Regions from separate parts of the Homo sapiens genome. Here region 1 is linked to region 2. Evidence: promoter capture Hi-C in 16 types of primary human blood cells and fetal thymus (Javierre and others, 2016). All regions are on one chromosome and are shown on one strand. The core of a region is centred on a gene start or on the middle of the fragment in contact, and the rest is flanking DNA. Distances in the headings are between cores, read along the strand shown. Region 1 overlaps LOC124902605. Region 2 holds the start of POLR2L (RNA polymerase II, I and III subunit L).

The links. The method cuts DNA at HindIII sites, captures the fragments that hold promoters and counts their contacts. A CHiCAGO score of 5 or more calls a contact.
Region 1: a fragment that was not itself captured here is called in contact with the fragment with the promoter of POLR2L in region 2 in 8 of 17 cell types (fetal thymus, endothelial precursors, naive CD8 T cells and 5 more); the score reaches 6.8 in fetal thymus.

The regions. Positions count from the first base shown.
Region 1 is chr11:1,050,582-1,054,032 of GRCh38, reverse strand. LOC124902605 reads right to left here. Exons shown (of 4, transcript XM_047427955.1): 3 at 2,190-2,410. It overlaps LINC02688 (long intergenic non-protein coding RNA 2688), which reads right to left. Exons shown (of 4, transcript NR_160890.1): 2 at 2,190-2,410. Among named protein-coding and RNA genes, the nearest start is that of LINC02688, 2.4 kb to the right of the region's middle. The HindIII fragment of the contact is 1,775 bases long and covers 889-2,663 here.
Region 2 is chr11:840,189-843,780 of GRCh38, reverse strand. It overlaps POLR2L (RNA polymerase II, I and III subunit L), which reads left to right and starts at 1,252. Exons shown (of 2, transcript NM_021128.5): 1 at 1,252-1,367; 2 at 3,301-3,592. The coding sequence starts at 1,273. The coding sequence ends at 3,409. It overlaps TSPAN4 (tetraspanin 4), which reads right to left and starts at 929. Exons shown (of 9, transcript NM_003271.5): 1 at 866-929. RefSeq lists silencers at 257-425, 411-640, 661-750, 861-1,490 and enhancers at 759-1,502, 1,503-2,248, 2,249-2,993. The HindIII fragment of the contact is 22,784 bases long and covers 1-2,678 here.

The DNA of each region.
Region 1 (3,451 bases), core at 527-3,026, 210 kb before region 2:
GTGTAGGGTTGGGTCTAGGGTTAAGGTGTTGGGACTAAGGGGTTTGGGTGGAGGCTTGGGGTGAATTTAGGGCAGGGGTAGGCTGGGGTGAGGGTAATTTGGGGTGGTATGTTAGGGTCAGGACCCTGGGACCACGCTGGGTCTGACGCATTCAAGGGCACTTTGTCAGCCATCAAACGGGGCAAGACGCTCCACCTGGGTGACACAGAGCCGCACAGCCCTGCACCTGTACCTACACCTGGGGCCCCTCCTGTGCCCACAGGGCCTCCCCTGGTCAGCTGGGAGGGCTCTGCTAGCTGCCTCCTATCCCTAAGTGGACACAGTCCCTGGATCCTTCCCCCAGGGCTGGCCACACCCAGCTGACCACTCCCCCAACTCCCCTCTGGGCCCAGGCAGTCACCAAGGGGGTCAGCCGTCCTCAGTCCTCTCAGCCACGCAGGCCTGGGCCTCGGGTAGGGCTGCAGGACACACCTCCCCTACAGCTGGGCAGGTCCATGGTGTCCAGGCAGCCTGCCCTGGCCCGGCCCCAGGTGGTGCCTGGCATGCAGAGGACCGGAAGGCGGCAAGACCCCCGCTGCCAACGCCCCTCTCCGGCCCAGATAAGGTTCTGGGGAAGTCATTTCTTCCAGGCCCAGCTTCGGGAGGGTTGCAGTGTCCACACACATCTCCCCCTGCAGCTCAACCAGGCGCCACGGGAGGCACCCAAACAGCTGTGGGAACTGCAGGAAGGAGGGGAGGAGAGGGCGGGGAGTGGAGGAGGGAGGAGCTGCCCAGGCGTCCCCCGCGTAGGGGTGCAGGCTCCTGGGGATGCTGGGGACTCCAGGTCCTCACTGGCCCTTCCCGGCTGGCCCGCCTTTGCTCTGCATACAGCTGGCGCTCAGCAAAGCTTGCCGCTGCTGATGGACAATTCCATAGCTCACTCCAGCATATCTGTGCCCCAGGAGACGGTGCCCTCCTGGCCCCGGCCTGTGCCCTCTGTGGCCATTGAGGGCCCCGCCAGGCCTGCGGTCACAGGCGGGGCCAGTGCAGGGAGGAGGCCCTGACCACAGCAAAGGGGTCCGCAGCAGGGGAGGCACCAGCGTCCAAGTGCCCGTGCCCAGGGAGGTGCCACCTCTGACACGGACAGGGCTTCAGGCTTGGGACACAGGTGCCGGGGAAGCAGAAGGGAAAGGGAGGGGGCGGAACCCCGGCAGCAGGTCGGCTTGGTGACTGCACACCCCACGGGGGCAGTGGCTTACAGGGACCCACAGCCCAGGAGGGCCTCACCTTCGGCCCCTCCCAGCAGTAGCACCAACTGCCGTGGCCGCCCACACTACCCTCGTCCCGACGGCCACCCACACCAGGCCCTCCGTGGCCAGCACTCCTGTCATCCACATCCCCATCTTGCTGATAAGCGGGCGGTGAGGACACAGGAAACCCAGGCTGTCACCCGCCCAAGTCCGGAGCCAGGATGGGTCCCCCAGGTGGGAGAAGCCTGGTCTCACCCCCAGAGTGGCCCAGCCTGTCCCACAGCCAGGATCTAATGCCAGTCTCCCAAGGAGTGGGCACAGGGGGGTGTCTGGCCCCCCCTTATGGGGAGGGAACTCTCCATGGGGGGCCAGGAGCTGGGGAGCCTCAGGGGTCACAAGAAGCTGGTGGAGCCAGGGAGCCATGGCCACAGCGTGGGGGCAGGTGCCCCAGGAGGGGGAGGGGAGGGCATGGCCTTGGTTGCTACCAGCCCCCGCACTGGCATTCGGGCAGCATGGGGGCACATTTTGGGCCTGGGGGACTGTGCCATCGTGGCCAGGAGCACCTTGAGAAGCCAGGAGGGCTGGCCAGGGTGGGGCAGAGCAGAGCAGGGCAGGGACAATCTGCCCAGACGTCTCACCACCCCTCAGACACCCCCAGACTTGCCTGGGCCAGGATAAATACGCAGTCCTTGCCCCAAGGCCCAGAATTAGGTACGTGGGTACCTGCATGTCTGGCCGGGTCCCCTGCCTCTCTGTGCAGAATCCTGATGCCCCCTGGCAGGCCTAGGGGTTCAGCAGAAGCAGGTTGCAGCCCCCACACCCCTCTAATGGGCCACATAGAAGGTGGGCCAAGGGCAGTGGATGGGGGGCCTGGGACACAGCAGCTGGGACACTGCCCCAGGACCAGGGTCGGGTCCAGGAGTGGAGAACCCAGGGCAGTGACGGGGAGAGCAGACAGACCTGGGTTGAGATGGTGTCTGGGTGGGAGTCCAGGGGGCCGGGGGCCCAGCTTCCCAGGTGCCAGGGGAGCCCCCGCCCCTGAGTCCTTGGTGAGCTGAGTCTCCAGGGTGTGGTGCTCCCAGCATCCTAGCCAGGCCTTGTGGCTGCAGAGGGACAGAAACCAGGCCCAGCTTCCTGCTGGGGGGGTCACCTCTCCCCAGGGGTCCAGGACACCGCTGCATCTGAAAATGAGCAGGAAAGGGGTGCTCAGTGCAGCCTCAGGGCCTTGGGGACCCCCTTGGATCTTGCCAGCTCCCGAAATGCAGAGAGAGAGTCGGGCAGTGGGGCCAGGGCTACAGCCCCCATGTCTCCTCAACGTCTGCCTGGCTCTGTCTACCTCAGGGAACCAGGGCTCCTCATACCGGACCTGGCCTCTACCCGCCCAGGGCGCTTGGAGCAAAGACTGTGGTCCCAGGTTCCCCGACAGTGGAAGCTTCCCTGCCCAGCCCAAGCCGTCTGCAGCCAGACCAGAGGCTGGTGTGGCACCATGGAAGGTTCCGGAGGGCGAGAGCCGTGATGCTGTAGCCCGCCAGCAGGTGGCACCTGGCACCCGCACCACAGCCCGGAGGAGGGCTGGGCAAGGCGTGTGCTCAGGGCCGTGTGGCCCAGGTGTGTGCCTGCGTGTGCCTGCATGTTGGCAAGTCCGGTGCCCGGGTGGCTCTCAGGCATCTTGGGGAGAACAGTCAGCCCACAGCCGGGCCAGAGCCCTCTGGCCCCATTGATGGGAGGCTCTGGGACAGACAGCACTGAGAAGGGAGAGAAGCTGGGCAGGTGGGGCAGGTGGGGCCACCGGGCAGGCGTGAGGGTGACCCTGCCAAGTGGCACAGGGACGATCTGAGTCCTGCAGGGCCCGGCAGCGCCTGAATAATGGGAGAAGCTGTGTGAGCCGTGCACGGGCGGGACAGCAAGGCGGGCGGGCGTGGGTCCTGTACACACGGGTGTGGGTGTGGCTGAGCGACCACTCGCCCTCTCACATCCCCTGCAGTGAGCGTGGGGGCACTGGCCCCTCATTTCCCAGCCCCGCTGGGCCCACCTCCTGCCTGGCCCTCCCAGGGACTGACGTGTGGCCACCTACCCCTCGAACCGCAGGGGTTGCCTGTCCCCGCCTCTGTCCCTGCACCTCAGGCCCATCCCCGCCCTTGTCCCCGCACCTCGGGCCTGTCCCCGCCTTTGTCCCCGCAACTCAGACCTTTGGTGACACCTGTGGGCTCAGGCGCCACATG
Region 2 (3,592 bases), core at 3-2,502:
CAGAGCCCCCCATGGGTGCCGCTTTGCGGCCCACCCACCCCCACAGCCCACCTCGCACCTCCAAGGAGCCTTCTTTGCCTCTCACTGCACACCGACCCCCCATTTCCTCACCCCCACCCCAGGGGCACAGCAAGAAGGGTGCTGGTGCCAGCCCCCCCGCACTCCATCCGAGAGACACGGGCTCCTCGTCCCTCGTCGTCCGTAGGCCCTGAGCTCCAGGGCAAGCCAGAGCTGAGGCCTTCAGGGGGTCCTGCCAGTGCAGCCTCCGGGAGTCTGCCCAGGGATCCCCTGTGCCGGGGTCTTCCAGGTTCAGCTCAAAAAGCACCTCTTCCACGACTCCCTCCCCGACCTCCCTCCCGGGTCCCCTCTCCCCGTGCTCAGAGGCGCGTCTGAGCGTCGGGAGCTCGGGACGGCGAGCAGCCAGCAGAGCCGGGACCCGGGAGGGCGCACCCCGACCCCATTCCCGGGAAAGAGCGGAAAGAACGCGGACAGGAGCCCGGGGCGGGGAGCTGCCGGCGGGGGCTGTAATTGCGCAGCTGAGGCCAGGGCGGCGCCCCTAGGGGCTGGGCCGCGTCCAGAATGGGACCCCCGAACTCAGCGCCGAGAGCCCCGGACACCCCGCGGGCAGAGGCCGAGGCGGAGGAACCCACTACTCGGCGCGGCCAGGAGGGGCGGCAGGAAGACCCGCCCCGGCCCCCGCCCGCCCTCTCCCCGAGCCCCCGCGCCGGACCCCACTTGTTGCTGCGTGTCGGCTCTGGGCTCGAACTCGCGCGCCCCGCTCGCGTCCGGCTCCAGCCGCTCCCGGTCGGACACCTCCGGCCACGGGACCCTGGCCGCACGCCCCCACAACCCCCAGGCGCAGTACCTGCGCCGCCGCCTCCCGCTCGCGCCGCCCGCTCCCGCCGCGCAGCTGTCAGTCAAGCGGACACGAGAAACGCGAACCGCCGCCGCAGCTTTACGGCCCTGCTCAGACGCCGTAGCGCCGGGATGCACCAAGACGGTGGGCGGGGGTGTGCGGTCTGCTGCTGCCGCGGCCGCGCGGGCCCGGGAGCCCCGGGACGCACAGGCCCAGGAGCCCCGGGACGCACGGGAAGCCCCTATCGCGGCGGAAACTGCGGCCAGCGGTGGCGGGGCCGGTGGAGGGACGGCCGGAACAGCGGAGAACGAGCGGAGCCGATTCTCCCGCAACAGTGGACGCGCCCGGGGCGGGGCCTGGGGGGGTTCTTCGCGTGCGGCCGGGCCGGGCCGGGCAGTCTGGGACGCGCCGCCGCCATGATCATCCCTGTACGCTGCTTCACTTGTGGCAAGATCGTCGGCAACAAGTGGGAGGCTTACCTGGGGCTGCTGCAGGCCGAGTACACCGAGGGGTGAGGCGCGGGCCGGGGCTAGGGGCTGAGTCCGCCGTGGGGCGCGGGCCGGGGCTGGGGGCTGAGTCCGCCCTGGGGTGCGCGCCGGGGCGGGAGGCGCAGCGCTGCCTGAGGCCAGCGCCCCATGAGCAGCTTCAGGCCCGGCTTCTCCAGCCCCGCTCTGTGATCTGCTTTCGGGAGAACCTTATCCCCTGAAGTCTGGGGAAGAGAACGGAGTTGGGCTTCAAACCAGTGGTGTCCTGGGGATTCTAGGTGGCCTGGCGGGTCGCAGGCGTCTTGTCACCCGCAGTAAAGCCCTTGGCCTCCGCCCTATTCCCATCTCTGCCCCCAGGCCCACCCCATGTCCTGCAAACCTCGCTGCAGGACGGGCGGGCGCGGCGGCTGACATCTGTAATCCCAGCAGTTTGGGAGGCCGAGGCGAGAGGCTTGCTTGAGCCCAGGAGGTCGAGACCAGCCTGGACAACCTGGGGAGACCCTGATCTCCAGAAATTTATTTTATTTTATTTTTCTTTTTTGAGACGGAGTCTCGCTCCGTCGCCCAGGTTGGAGTGCAGTGGCGCGATCTCGGCTCACTGCAACCCCCGCCTCCTGGGCTCCAGCAATTCTCCTGTCTCAGCCTCCCGAGTAGCTGGGACTACAGGCGTGTGCCACCACGCCCGGCTAATTTTTGTATTTTCAGTAGAGATGGGATTTCGCCATGTTGGCCAGGCTGGTCTGGAACTCCTGACCTCAGGTGATCCACCCGCCTCGACCTCCCAAAGTGCTGAGGTTACAGGCGTGAGCCACCGCGCCTGGCTCTATCTTTTTAATTCGCCGGACATGGCGGTGCACACCTGTGGTCCCAGCTACTTGGGAGGCTGAGACGAGAAAATCGCTTGAGTCTGGGAGGCAGGTGGAGGTTGCAGTGAGCCAAGATCACGCCACTGCACTCCAGCCTGGAAGAGAGAGTGAAACTCCGTCTCACGCACACACACACACAGAAAAAGAAATGCAGGGTAGACTTGCTGACCACCCTCATCAGGCTTTGTAGGGGAGGCGTCTTTCTCCTGTGCTTGTCCCTTGGTGCTGCTGTCACCACGGTGCCTGAGTCTTGGTGCCCCCGCTGGAGTCTGACCCTCGCCCACTGAGTCTTCGTCACATGTGAAGCCCTGGGCTTGTGTGCGCCAGCCTGCCATCGGCACTTGGTGCAGCTTGCTGGACAAACGAGGAAAGCGAGTGGGCTGCTAGACTGAGTGGCTGGCGGCCTGTCCAGACCCTTTCCCCGGATAGGAACGGCAGGGGCCTCCCATGTGGCCTCCCCTTTCCCAAGCTTCTGTGTCTCTGCACATTGGAGCCATCGGTGTGGGAGTTTTCTGGAGGTCTTGAGGGTGACTGGAGCTAGGTCCCAGGGAAATGAAAGCTTCTAATTGGCTTGGGAAGTGGGAGAGGTGGCTCCGTGGAGAAGCAGTCTCTCTCTGATGGAAGGAAGCAGAGGTGAGGAAAGACCCCACAGCGGCAGAGCAGGGCTTGCTCTGGCTGGGGTGGGGGTGAACCAGCTAAGGGCAGGCCCCTGGAGAGCTACCCTGCCGTGGCCAGTGCTGGATGAGGTGGCTGCACATCAGCACCTTGGTGGTCTTGGTTTTCTAAGCTCCCCGCAATTACTTCGTTTTCATTTCATTTACATTTCTTACATACGTTATACACACACACGTACAGCCAGAGTAGGTGGGAGAGGAGGCTCCTCACGCTCCACCCAGGGTTCTGGGCATTTCCAGGTTACTCCAGCCAGGATCATACTGCTAGATCTCAGCTTCTGAGCCGGGTGAATCTGTTCGCCTTGCCGGTGGCGGGGGGGGTGAGGCCAGCAGGCAGTGAGAGGCAGGTTGGATGTGGGCTCCAGGCCTTTGCAGACCGTAGAGAACTCAGTTGGCCTCTGCTCCTCCCCTCGACACAGGGATGCGCTGGATGCCCTGGGCCTGAAGCGCTACTGCTGCCGCCGGATGCTGCTGGCCCACGTGGACCTGATCGAGAAGCTGCTCAATTATGCACCCCTGGAGAAGTGACCACGCTGGAACCCACCCACCCGCTGTGCTGACCATGGGCCCTGAGCGTCCTGCCCCGAATTCACGAGGCTGAGGCATCCGGGAGCTGGCGTAATGCCTGGCCGCAGTGTGTGTGTATCCGATACCCCACTCTGGAAGGAACCATCCAGTAAAGGTCTTTCAGAACCACTAAGGTCCCAGCCC